Regions from separate parts of the Homo sapiens genome. Here regions 1 and 3 are each linked to region 2. The links are contacts of gene promoters, found by promoter capture Hi-C in human tissues and cell types (Jung and others, 2019). All regions are on one chromosome and are shown on one strand. The core of a region is centred on a gene start or on the middle of the fragment in contact, and the rest is flanking DNA. Distances in the headings are between cores, read along the strand shown.

What was found. The method cuts DNA at HindIII sites, captures the fragments that hold promoters and counts their contacts. A contact is called where the count stands out against the background at its distance.
Region 1: a contact is called between a fragment that was not itself captured here and the fragment with the promoter of B4GALT6 in region 2, in 1 of the 25 tissues and cell types used here (lymphoblastoid cells).
Region 3: a fragment that was not itself captured here is called in contact with the fragment with the promoter of B4GALT6 in region 2 in 1 of the 25 tissues and cell types used here (lymphoblastoid cells).

Annotation. Positions count from the first base shown.
Region 1 is chr18:31,226,467-31,230,942 of GRCh38, reverse strand. It overlaps LOC105372049 (a long non-coding RNA gene), which reads right to left and starts at 2,831. Exons shown (of 4, transcript XR_001753388.2): 1 at 2,733-2,831. The HindIII fragment of the contact is 5,175 bases long and covers 1-4,476 here.
Region 2 is chr18:31,682,851-31,687,433 of GRCh38, reverse strand. B4GALT6 (beta-1,4-galactosyltransferase 6) reads left to right here and starts at 2,853. Exons shown (of 9, transcript NM_004775.5): 1 at 2,853-3,122. The coding sequence starts at 3,008. RefSeq lists a silencer at 1,717-2,756. The HindIII fragment of the contact is 7,513 bases long and covers 1,133-4,583 here.
Region 3 is chr18:31,242,086-31,246,535 of GRCh38, reverse strand. All of the region lies in intron 1 of LOC105372049 (a long non-coding RNA gene), which reads right to left. Among named protein-coding and RNA genes, the nearest start is that of DSG1, 74 kb to the left of the region's middle. The HindIII fragment of the contact is 3,577 bases long and covers 1-3,440 here.

The sequences.
Region 1 (4,476 bases), core at 1,084-3,583, 460 kb after region 2:
GAATTAAGGCCACACATGTAATCAGAAAATAAACTATTAAACATATTTTGAAGAAATTTATATTCATTTGGCAATTGAATGTCTCACTTAATCAAAAACTTATTTAACCAACATAGGTTGCGTTTTTCCTTCTCAGAGAGGTAAGACAGAGCCTGTATTATTTCTATGTAGTCACTGCATCATTCTGGCATGTCTTTGGTTGGGTATGACTCACTGAACAGAAAAGACCGTCTTTCACTACTGAAAATGAGACTTGTTTAAACAAAGCATTGTTAATTCTACTTGGTTGAAACAGGAGGCTACCTGGATGATTATCCTGCTATTTTTTCTTTTTTACTACGGACTCATGACTGAGTCATACTTGAGAATTACAGCATGGGGTCATTGTATAACCAAAAATCTAAAAGAAATTAAAAATAAAGCAAAATTGATAACAACTTCACAATGATCAAAAAGGTACATAATATTTCATATTTCATACAATGAATTGTTATTTATTGTGGACTCCACTGTAAGAGTGTCTTAATTCTCACAAGCTTAAAAGCAGTATGGTGTCTTGTAATGTTGGGGAAGTGAATTCACACTTGGAGGTAGCTTTATCTCACAGTCAAACTGTGGATTTCAGTTAAGGAACTTGAGTTAGAATTCTTTTCCACGCCTCTTTGTTATTATCATTTTTTATACATTTCCAAGTTTCATTTTCTCTTTGGCCTATAGAGATACCATAATATTTTTTATCTTATTCCAGGAAATTCTTAAAAGGAGGATTCTTTATGAGCATAAAAGTTCTCATATGTTACTGTCCAAACAGGCAAATAGTTAGACTCTATTGTAAAGAAAACAAAAAAACCTGTAAGACACAACTAAGTCAAAAGGAAACTAGCCACTCACTCTTGACCTGTAATAGATAATTGACACGTGATACCTTTATTAGTATACCTCAAATGCAACATAATCTACCTTGTGGTATTGTTGTAATCACTTATCACAAATAAAATGTTATCCCAGTCCACTTACATGCTAGGAATAATGTTTTGCACACACGAAGTTAGAGACTGCCTGGTTATGGCCATGTGATGAAGTTCTCACCAGTAGAGTATGAGCAGCAGTGATACGTAAAATTTCTGCCACAATTTAAAGGAAAATTGCTGGCCTTGATTTTCCTATTCTTCAAGCTGAACACAAATATGCTCACTAGCCAACTTTGACCATAAAGTTAAAAAGAAAGTCTGAGATGCTGAAAAGAAAAAAAAAAGGAAGAGATCTGGATTCCTGGATGGCTATGTAGAGCAGAGTCACCTTGGAACCCTGAACTGCTCATTTGGGGACTATTAGGTTATATATGAAACAAATCAATGTTTATTTTGAGAAGTGACTATATTTTGGGATCTCTTTATTACTGTAGCTTAGCTTTTTGACATAATGTTGAAGAGACTGGTATTGAAAGTGGGATGCAGATAGACATCACAAAAACAGAAAAGATGTGATTTTGGCTTGAAAATCAAGTAACACACAGAAAGGACAAAATATAGTAGATGGGAACTACGGTTACCTTCAGTCATGTGTTGAAAACATTTGGTAAGAATATGACATGTGATGATTTGCAAGACAAGCACATTTCCCACTGAGCTTGTTCCTCTAGGTGAAGTGGTTAGAAATTTCCAGAAAGATAGTGTGAGAAGATGGCGATACAGTTTGGATGTTGTTCCCTCTAAGTCTCAGGTTGAAATGTAATCCCCAATGTTGAAGGTGGGGTCTGGTAGGGGGTGTTTGGGTTATGGAGGTGGATCCCTCATGGCCATGGCTTGGTACTGTCTTCATGATAGTGAATGAGTTCTCGTGAGGTCTAGTTGTTTAAAATTGTGTGGCACTGCCCCCCCACCAACTCTCACCGCTGCTTCCAATTTGCTTTTCACCATGAGTAAAAGATCCCTGAAGCCTCAGATGCCCAGCACCACACTTCCTATATAGCCTGCAGAACCATAAGCAAATTAAATCTCTTTTCTTTATAAATTACTCAGTTTCAGGTATTTCTTTTTCTCCTTCCTTCCTTCCTCCTTCTTTTTTTTTTTTTTTTTTTTTTTTTGACAGAGTCTCATTCTGTCACCCAGGCTGGAGTGCAGTGGCATGATCTTGGCTCACGCAACCTCCACCTCCCGGGTTCAAGTGATTCTCCTGCCTCAGCTTCCAAGTAGCTGGCACTGCAGACATGCACCACCACACCTGGCTAATTATTGTATTCTTGTAGAGACAGAGTTTCACAATGTTGGCCAGGCTGGTCTTGAATTTCTGACCTAAGTGATCCACCCACCTTGGCCTCCCAAAGTGTTGGGATTACAGGTGTGAGCCACTGCGCCTGGCCAGGCATTTCTTTATAGCAACACAAGAACAGCCTAACACAGATAGTTACAGTATAAAAGTCAGAAAGCAGATACACTTAAAACTAAATTTTAAAAAAATGAGGTATGGTTATTGAAACATGCAATCAATTATAAGGAAAAAAACCCTGCAGTTACTATGTTTTCAATGGATTGCGTTACCAAATTAGCCATCAGCATAATTTGGAAAAGCAAAATTGTGAGGCATGAAGTAGTCTTCTGATATTCATGTAAAAGACACAAAATAAGTGCCCAGAAGGCAAGGTCAGAGGCCACAACGACCACAGGCAAAGGAGTTCCTCTCAGAGAGTAGAACCAGGGACAGCCAGACGGGTCAACCAAGAACCCACTCACCTCCCAGAGCAGACAGATGAATGACTCCCACCCAGCACAGTGATAACTTCTCTAGATCAGTCTCTGTAGTGTGCTTCTCATGCTTTCCTTTTCCAAATTGTGGCTTATATTGCATTTATCCTATTCCTGCTCTGCTACTGTTTATTTGTGGGGTGGGAATTGGAGGGAGGTAACATATTGATCTGGTGGAGAGGACTGTGTTTCAACTAGTGATCCTGAACTTTGAGCTGGATGAAATAACTGAATTAGACTTCAGCTTACCTACTTTGGAAAGGGAACAAGTATGTTCCATTTGTGGAAGGAAATTTACATCTAAACAGTGGGGTGGCTAGAGCCAAATATTGTGTCAGAAACTGCTAACTGTCCACCAAATTCCATTATCTCCTGTGTTGTAGTAATAGAATTTAAGTTGATCATATGACTTCCTTGGCAGAGATTACATTTCTCTGAGTCCTTTGCAGATGATAATGTGATGTGATGGCATTCTTGCCAATGCAATGTGAGTCAAATGGCTGGTTACCATTTCTGCCTCACTTGTTTTAAAGATAAGTAAAAGCCAAAGGGCCTGAGGTTGGGATGCAAAAGAAACAGGATGACTGGAGTGAAATAAGCCAGAGAGCACAGGCCAGACCAGTACATAGTGCAAAGCTTGAATCTTACTCTGCAAGAAACAATTGAGCCAAGTAACGATAAGATTTCATTTATATTTTCAAAAAGAGACTTGACTATGTTGGAGCAGAAAGAAGACTTCAGAGGCAATTGCAAGAGCCCAGGTGAGTGATGAAGGTGGCTTAGTCTAGAATGGTGGCAGTGAGGGACATGATCAGCTCACATTCTGGATACATTTTGAATTATGAGCCCCTTAGGACATGCTCATGAATTGACTGTAGAGTGAAAGGGAGCAGAGTCAACTCAGGTGAATTCTAGGTTTTTGGCCAGAAAAATTGGATGAATGGGAAGATTGAGAGAGGAGCAAATCTGTGGTGTGGTCTTAAACCACGAGTTTTGTTTTAGATATTTTAAATTTTGTCTATTGGAGATCCAAGTAGAGGTGTCAAGGAAGTGGTTGCATAACTGGGCCTCAGTTTAAAGATGGTGTTTAAACCTGAGAGATGAGGCGTGACCACCAAATATGTCCGTGTGTAGAAAATAAATAGAAGAGAGTCCAGTACTTACTGGCAGTGTGCACAAAATTCAGAGGCCAGGAGGAGAGAAAGAATAGTGAAGTCACAGAAGAGGAAGTTAAGTAAAGAAAGTGTTTCTGGACGGAGGTAATGAAGGACTTGAAGAAATGCTGCTCTGCATCTGAGCTGTTGTATGTGTTGTGGTTCTTTCATTATTTATAAATAAAAAGGAAAAAATATGTCTCATATAGCCAAGTCTACTTGGCTTTTCTATACCAGAAATGCTTATAGGGCAATTGTTATTAGAAAAGAAAAAAATGATACTATTTTTAAATTTTAATTGCCATTTTTTTTTTTTTGAGACAGGATTTTGCTCTGTCACCCAGGCTGGAGTGCAGTGGTGTGAACATAGCTTTCACTGTAGCCTCGACCTTCCGGGCTCTCTCTCTCTCTCTGTCTCTCTGTCTCTCTCTCTCTCTCTCTCTCTCTCTCTCTCTCTCTCTCTCACACACACACACACACACACACACACACACACACATATTAGAAACAGGGTTTTGCTATGTTGCCAGGCTGGTCTCAAACTTCTGAGCTCAAGAGATTCACCCGCCTTAGCCTCC
Region 2 (4,583 bases), core at 1,604-4,103:
CTGAGGCATCCCTCAGACTATGAGAGACAGACTTAATGGGTGACCCACTAGGAAATTTGGTGTTTAAGCAGAAAGAGACAACCATCATTTGTTACTGTGGACAGAGAGTGACTGCAAGGAGAGATTTCTAAAAATATATTTTACAAATACTCGAATGGTGCTTACCATGTACCAGCCTCTCCCATGCTCTTTACAGGCATTAATTCATTTAATTTAATCCTCACAACAATGGCTGCACCGACTAGGCTTGTTTTCTGGTACAACAGATAAAAGTCTACTCCTGGGGAGAGCTAATCAGTCTTAACAAGTACCGTGGGGGACACTTGCCGAACAAGAGAAATCAAGAGATAGGGTTAAAATTAGGGGAGAAACCGATGGCAGTCATCTATGCCAGCTAGGTTCATCTGTACAGTCTTCAGATTTCTTATAGATGAATCATCAAATTCTATAATGTTACTACTTCTCTCTCAGTTTATAGTAAACTTTCCTTTGAAAAAGCCAACCTTGCCTGAGAAGAATGGTCTACCACTAGGTCAGCAAAGGTATGGAACTCTCTTTTGACTAGTGGTATGGTGGTATTAGCTTTGTAAACAACCAGTCTAACTGATGCAAATAAAGATAAATGAACAGTGGGATTGGAGAGGGGAAAATCACAATTTTTGCTTCCTCAGCATTCATGACTTCTTTGGCTTGCATAGATTTTGTTTTTCTTTATTTTACAAATGAGTTTCCTTTTAATGTTGTTCCACTTTGCATTTCAAATTTCCCTTAAGCATCTAAAAATGTTACAAAATAGTGTCATTACCTTTCAAATTAAACATCAAATTAGCCAGAGAAGTTGAGTTGTGAGTACTCCAACAAGCAAAATATTAAAAAATGAATTTCAACTTGGTGATCCCACCTAGTGAACTAATGGGATATAAGGAACCTCTTACGTCCCAGACACCATGCTTAGCATTATGCACAGTTATCCATTTAATCTCACAGCCTTGCAAGGGGGTATTATATCCACTGTTTGAGGGCGGAGAAAACAGGCTCACACAAAGTAGTAGCTTCCAGGGGTCTCACAGTTAATATTAATGAAAGGCTTGGGCTTATACATAGGTGTTTCAGGTTCCACATTGCAAAGCATTATCTCAGGGACGATCTATGGCATGCGCATCCCGATAAAAACGTACCAAATTTATTGGCTATCAACTACAGTTCCATCTGGAAATACTCAGCAAATAATGGCAGTAAGGCATCCCGCCACTTCCTGCATGATTAGTTGAAAAAGAAACACCTGCGCACACACATTTGAACAATGTGATACAGCTAAGGACCTGGACAGTCAGCTAGCAGGAAGAAACATTTGAACGAAGGGTAGACCACGGCCTAGGAGGTGGATGAAGACACCCGTCCGTTTGCCTACTGAAGCAAGATGGGGCTGAGGCGCTCAAGGGCCTATTGGCTGCCCAGAAGCCTTTGCAGCGCCGCCTGAATACAGCGAGGATGACCCAGGGTTCACCTTCAGCGTTGAAGGCAAGTCCTGGTATAAGGGACGCACATAGGTCCGCGCCACATCCTGACACTGTTTCCACAGGAAGTGCGGGATAGGAGGGGGGATTCATTAATCCAGGTCGGAAATACACCTTGTTCCTCGAGGATTTTGGAAGGAAATTCCACCCGCGAAGTCCCCTTTTGGAGATGCCCTTTTCCTTTCAGGTACAGCATCCTTCATTATGTACCCCCAGGGTACAATGTATCCGGGGCTCGCAACGCGTCCCTCAACCCCCAGCAGCGCGGTCACCGCGGGGTCCCCGGGCGGGCGGGGGCGGCGGTGACGCAGGAGGCGGTGGGGCCCCGGTGCGGCGGGCGCGGGGAGGGGGCTGCTGGGCGCGGGCCTATCAGGACGCGCGGTGTTTCGGGCGCGGGGAGGGCGGGGACCTCCAGGTTTCCTCGGGGCCCGGCGCAGCGCCGCCTGCCGAGTTCCGAGCGAGCGCGCGAAGCGCGCAGGGGTCTCGAGACGTTCCCGCCGGTCCCGGTTTTCCTCCGCGGCTCCCCCGCCCCTTCACGTCCGCCTCTTTCTCCAACCAGACGCGGCTCCGACGGCGCTCGGCCTCTGCTCTTCCGGCTCCCCGGCTCTGCCCGCAGCGCGCGTCGCCCGGTTGCTCTTCGCCTGGTGTCCGCGGGCCCGGCGGGGGCGCCTCACCCCGGGCGCGCGGCGGTAATGCCGCTGCCGCCCTTGCGGCCAGGCAGGCAGCTGGCGGCGGCCGGAGTCGGAGCGCGTTCGTCGCTGGCCGGGACGCCGCCCTGGCCTGTGCTCAGCTCCCGCGGCGGCCGCGGGGCGCCGGGGCCCGGCGCGGCATGAGGAGGCGGCTCGGTGCAGGCGAGCGCCCAGCTCCTCGGCCCCGAGGGCCCCCGCGGGCCCCCGCGCGTGGCGCGCGCTGGTTGCGGCCCCGGCGCCCACGCTAGCCCCGCGCAGGCAGGAGACGCCGCGGCCCGGAGTAGGAGGCGGCGCAGGGCCTGCCGAGCGGACGCGGGCGGCCCGGACCTTAAGCACGGGGCTTCGCGGCGGGACCCCGCCGGGCGCGGGCAGCGGAGCCGGGCGTGCTGCAGTTAGCTGCCCCTCTCCGCAGGGGCGCCGCGGCGCGCAGCCTGCGCCTCCTCCCACCTGCAGCCCCTCCTCCCGCCGCTGCTTGGCGGAGAAAACGCTCCTCCTCGCCCTTCCCCGGCTTTCTTCCGTCCTGCCGTCCCCGGGCCCCTAGCCCCCAGTCCCCTCTCCCCCCTCCACCTCTTGTCCCTCGGCCTCCGCGCCTCCCCTCCCCCGACTCTCTGGCCTCCCATTCATTCCGTCCGCTCCCTCCCATTTCCTCTTTTCCGCTCGGGCCCTCTCCCCAGAGCCTCCCCGCGCGGACCCCGCTGCAGTCTCGGGGTTCTCAGCACATTTATGGAAGTTTAGGGCCTGGACAGTGGCCCCGAGTCCGGCCTGAGAGCGCAGCCTGGGCTGCTGGCAGGGAAGAGGAAGATGTCTGTGCTCAGGCGGATGATGCGGGTTTCCAATCGCTCTCTCCTCGCCTTCATCTTCTTCTTCTCCCTCTCTTCGTCCTGTCTGTACTTCATCTATGTGGCCCCAGGCATCGGTAAGCACCGAGACACACCCTCGCTTCCCCTGGTCACACCACAGCCAGCGCAGGCTGTTATCCGATGTTACTTCTGGGATTTGGAAGCTGTTCAAACAGGGGCCCGCAGAAAAGCGTTTTGTTTTAAATGTTATTTCAGACGTGTCAAACTGCTTCAGGGCATGGCTTTGGTATGTGAGTTTTGTTAATGCATGCATTTTGTTAATGCATGTTTGTTAATAACGTAAAAGATTGCATTAAATAGACGTAGCAAAATTAGTGTGATGGCCCGGGATGCCCTAGTCGCTTTCTTGAGTGTTCATGACAGCTTTATCCATTTAATGTTAAGTCTTTAAGCCTAAACTGAGTGCTTAATCGTAGTTTTATTCAAACACTCTCGGGTATAATAACTGGTTGTAAAAATATGGAGGAGCCAGCAGCAGGGAATGTGATTGAGTCCAACAATGTGTGTTTTCTAGGGTCCTAGGTCGCTTTTTTAGAATGGGGTCAGTGGACCCCATTCTTTTTGTGCCATACTTGGGGAATTTTAAGGCGATGAGTTGTCTTGTAAAAACAATGCTCCATTATTTTAGTCTGCTTGGGTGTTATTTTCAAGGGTACGTTGCCTTTGCTACCTGTTAGGATGACTTCTGAGAAAATAGTGATTAAAATAACCGTTATCTAAGGGAACTTGTAGTTTAAAATGTTAACCGGTTTATCATTTTTTGGCCTTTGGTGCAAAATACACTTTTGTAAAACTGCTTGAATTAACTTCTTTATTAAATATCCGAATTCCTCGTCCCCCATTTGTTGAAAAGGAGCCAATGCGGCGTTAATTCTAGTGAATGAGAATTATGAACTTCACATGCATATTAAAATATGTCATATTTCCAAAACTTTTCTGAGTTTTTCCTGGCTATTACGTATTTAATGTTCAATTACTTAGTAACAGTGAGCATCTCCTCTCATTTCTCCTTACACACTGTGGTCGTTTGAGCCAGTGCTCTTTGTTCCGAGTTAGCTAAAAATGTAATGCCCCTTACAGAGTGAAAACACCTGCAGAATTTTCAGATGGAATGATCAGGGCATTGTCTTGAGTGTAGTAGATTATTGCAGTGAATTGCAGCAGGGAAGGAAGATGGAAACCTAATCCAGACTGCTTCATTTCTTAAAATTACTATGAGACTTTTTCTTTAATAATTAATTTTTGGATTCAGTGAGGTGTATAAACTCAGATGATGATGTTTAAGAAGAAATGCATTGTGAAACGTTGACGTATCCCAAAATAGAAGTTTTAGGGTAAAGTTTGAAGAATATTTTAACATTATTGCAGTTTTCCTTTAGGCCAGAAAAAACAAAAAACCTCACAAAAACCTACCCCTTGAAGCCTATAGTACAAATGACAGTGGTAGCTTAGTGGATTTGATATTATCTAGATACTCAACAAGAGCTTTCTTTATTTTTTGCCATTTTGGAGTCTTA
Region 3 (4,450 bases), core at 403-2,902, 440 kb after region 2:
CATTTAACCTGGTACCCATATATCACTATCCAAGTTTAATTTAAGACAACGGTGGCTAACAAATCAATAGCACCTACTTGTCCTGAGATAATTACTGAGCAGTACCAGTGGACTGGTTTCTAAGATATTCTACAATATAAATACAAGGCACAAGGTTTGCTGGTGAGATGTCAGATTTCATTTTGGAATAAGAGTTTCGGATTCCAAGCATGGTATAAAATAGAATATTTTATGTTAGGACATTAATCCAAAGTACCAACTAAATTCAAACTTCTAAAAGTATTAACAAGTAGGAACTAATAAGGTTGACATGGATAGGCTCTTGAGACTAAAGAAGTTATGGGATTATTTTAAATTAAAAAATGGAAATAAAAACACTTTGAAATAAAAGCCAGGGTTTATACCATCAGAGCAAAAACTAGGTAGCCATATAAATAAAACAAATCCAAGCTAAATGTTCAGCAAGACCAAAAGAAGCTTCCATTCCCCGCCCACTTAAATAAAAACACTAACCACACCCACACAGGCTATTTAGGTATGACTCCTCTGAGAAAGAGCTTCTTGCGTTTTCTCAGGGAGGAGTCAAGCCCCCAAACCTCATATTTTGTTTTCGTATGTCCTCTCCTACTATTTGAATAAGCTTTCAAAAATAACACATTGTCATTTCATTCATATAAGTCATATAAAACCTGAGATGTTAGCTTACTGAGGACAGAAAATTTGTGTATTTAATATTTTTAAGCTGTAAGTCCTATATGCTAGATTAGTGTTTACTTTTAATCATTTAAAAAATATTTTTAACTCGAGCCAAATATATTAGGTTGATGAAAAAGTAATTGTGTTTTTTGCCATTAAAAGTAAAGACAAAGACCGCAATTACTTTTACACCAATGCAATACATTTGTCAGACTGCTAAGGGAAGGACAGCTTGCATTACAGACTTCTTTTTGTATCATAAAAACAAAATATAAGCAGTGCTTCACATCTGAATGTGGGAAGTTAAAGATTATTTTATTTCATCATTTTGTTTTTGCTTTTCTGTATTTTCAAAATTTCTTCCATAGCGTATATATATTTTCTATCAGACATAAAATAAAATAGTGTTTACTTTTCAAATGTGGTAATTTCATCAATAAAGATAAAACACTGAAGCCAGTGTTTTGACTCCATTAACATAGACTTCTTTTTAAAAATGTGCAGTAGGTGAGCTCTTATTTTGACATTCATTCAAGCCCTTCCCGATTAGCCCATAGTTCATTTCACTTCAAACATTTCTTCTTTGTGTTTGCAGTTGAAATATTCTCTTAACAGCTCAGAAGGCTGCAGAAAATGCTATGCTTCATCAGGCAAAATGGATTAAAAAGGGAGTGTGCTCAACGCTGGCAGTGAAGGATGTCATTGTCTGACAAACTACACAGCAATTTGAGATTCAGCAGTTTCCTTTCCATTTAAGAAAGCTGCATTGTAAACAAGAAGCTAAATCATGAAGAGATGCAAGATTTGTCTAGGAAATTAAACGTATGTTAGAGACACTGACCAAGACTCGTTTTTGTTGGTGTAAAGGACTCTACTGTGAGATGGGCTGTTATTCAAAAGGTTCCACTTTCGAGTTGTTTTTCTCTGGGTACTACTGCCTCCCCAGCCTCTACAGACTCTAACCCTGCCAGGCAGATTGTTTATGGTGTTGGTCTTCGGGAGTGTGGTGCCTGGGCCTGTTTGTCAGTACCGATTCTTATTGCCCTCTATTTTTCTTCAGGTCTGACAGAATACTTCAGCAGCAGACTAGCCAAGAGCTGGTGCAGGACCACAAAGCTCAGGACACTAACTCCTTTCTCCATTGGGACGGCCTTCTCAGGAGGTTATTCTGATCACCCCTAGTTCCAGTTCTTTTCTATCATTGGGTCAGTTTCTGATGTGTTCAGATTCTGATAAATGTCCCAAGTGCAGCACACACAAAAAGACCAGGGGCTGCCAAGCATTCTAAATGTGCAGGTCTTTGAACCTTGGGGAGCATTTCAATATCCAAATTATTTCTTATTTGATCTTCACAAAACTTTCCCTGTGAGACGAATGTGATCCCCAGGTTACAGAGACAGCCAGATAAAGCACTGAACCCACATCTTCGGACTCCATTTTAGTGAAAACGGAGTTCTTTTTTTGTTTTGTTTTGCTTCTTTGTTTTCCAGGGTGACCTTAGGAAGTCACATTCCTCAAAGGCCAAAACAAACAGACAAAAAGCAAACCTACACAGAAAACAAATGCAGGAAGGAAAAGAGGAAAAAGGCCCTTTCTGATAAATGGCAAATTTAAAGTGCTGATAATAGGAAGATACATTTAAATTGAAAATACATTTGCCATAGCTTCTAGAAGCAATCTTGGAAAGCTTTCCTGTACCCTGAAAACACCTACTTTGCATGACCAATCTCCTCCATGTGGGGAGAGTACGCAGAAGTCATTTGCCAAGGAAGCTGCTGCACCTCACCACTGTGGAGGAAGCATGACCTTTACTATTTCTGCCGTATGATTGGGTGACTACAGTACTGCTCCTAGCATGAAAGCTGGCTCTGTTTTATGGGATTCCCACTGTCCTGCCCTACTTGGGCCGGCGTACAGTGTTAAAGATAACAAATGACCCCATCTGCTGTTTCTGACCATGCTGTATGTGTCAAGTTTAAGTAAGGAAGTCTTACCTCGTGTCCTGTCTGGGCAAGCACAATGACCCGTCTGTAGTACGCGTACCTCCCTGAGATCAAAGACCAAGTCCAGTTTCCAATTTGCTAGACTCCATTGGAAGGTTATTTATCTCAATCCATGAGTTTTAACACTTCGGGCTTTTCAAATGAATTCAAGTTAGAAGGTATTTTAGAAGTCAAATCAGTCTAAGAGCTTATCGGCTAAGGACAGTATGAAAATCAGGAAACCTTTGAGTGGTTTTCAAAATGAATTTCTTACAGTCTCACACTTAGAGACAACTAAAATATAAATTATTTATATGTAAATTGTTCATTCCCCTAGCAGTACCAGTGTTTTCAAGGGAACTGTTGTGAAGACACTAGAGCTTTCAGGGTTCTGGTTTACATCCCTGTAAAATCTGTAGAGCATTGAAAACCTGTTATTTGTAAAACACTCCACAGTTGATTCTGATAATCAAGTCCTCTTTTCAAGAAAGTCTGTTGATTTCTATTTAGAGAAAAAGGAGAAATTAAAAATAAAGCCAACAAACAGCCAGGACCGTCTTAGGGGATTTAACTCTTTATCTCTTTCCCCTGTTGTATGGTCTGCACAGCAGTTAATACTTTCTGAAATCACCTTGCTTTTTACTTGTTCCTTCCCACCCCCTCACCCATTGTATACACTCCATGAAAGCAGAAACATTGTCTCTTTTACTTTGCGCTAAAGTTTGTTGAATGAAAAAAAAAAAAAGACTTCAGAAAGCACCTCTATCCAGCATAGCTTTCATACCTTAAAAGACATAAATCCCTGTACATTTAAGTGATTTACAAATTTTCCAAAACCACAATAAATGAATGAATCAGGATAAGAACCTGGGTCTCTGTGCAGCTCAAGTGTTTGTTATTGTGTGCTAGTTAGTTTCAGGTGGTCACCTGCTCAAGTCCATTTGTCTAGATAGTATTAATTGATTGCCAATAAGTCAGGCACCTCATTAGGTGTTGTGATAAATACAAAAAGTACAATAACACTCTTCTTGCCTCAAAGAATTTATTATCTAGTAAGTACAATAAAACCTGTCCACTGAAACTACTCCCCCAAATCATTCCTCCTCCTACGTGAATAAAATCACTGAATCTTTGGCATGTTCACCAAAGACACAGCAATTAGGCACTCATATTTTGGCAAAGAGTCAAGTGTATTGTACAGTCTATAAAAATCCACTACCAAATTAATTCACCTGTGTGCCCTTTACCCAAGATATTGGTACATGTCACTATGGGAACATGGTTAGAGAGCTCTTTTGATGGAATTGCTGGATGTGACTTCTTCTAGGTATCTACACTTGACCATCTTTTGTCACAGAATTTGCTAATCCCCAAATAGCCACCTTGAGGAGGGGAAAAGAGGGGAACTAGTGCAAACAATAAATTAAGTTTTTATTTCTAAGTGCTTACCCAAGGCCTGAATCTTTCTAATGACTTCAGGAATATACTTGTTAATACAGGGCAGGCAAAAATTTCATGTTGTCAGCAAAACTTTGATGGTATCAAAATAAATATGAGTCATGTAATTTCAGCTTTTGAAGGTGGGGTCTGAGAAACTAGAAAAGATTTCCTGACTGGCAGATAGTGAGACAGCAACAGCCCCCTGGGAATGGAGAATCCCGCATCTCCACCTCCATCCAGTGCAATTGCAGAGACCACCGCCAGGGTGCCTAAGGCTGGTGCATTGAAACAAAGGAGATTCTTTTTCCCTGTCAATATTCTGAAGCTGCATG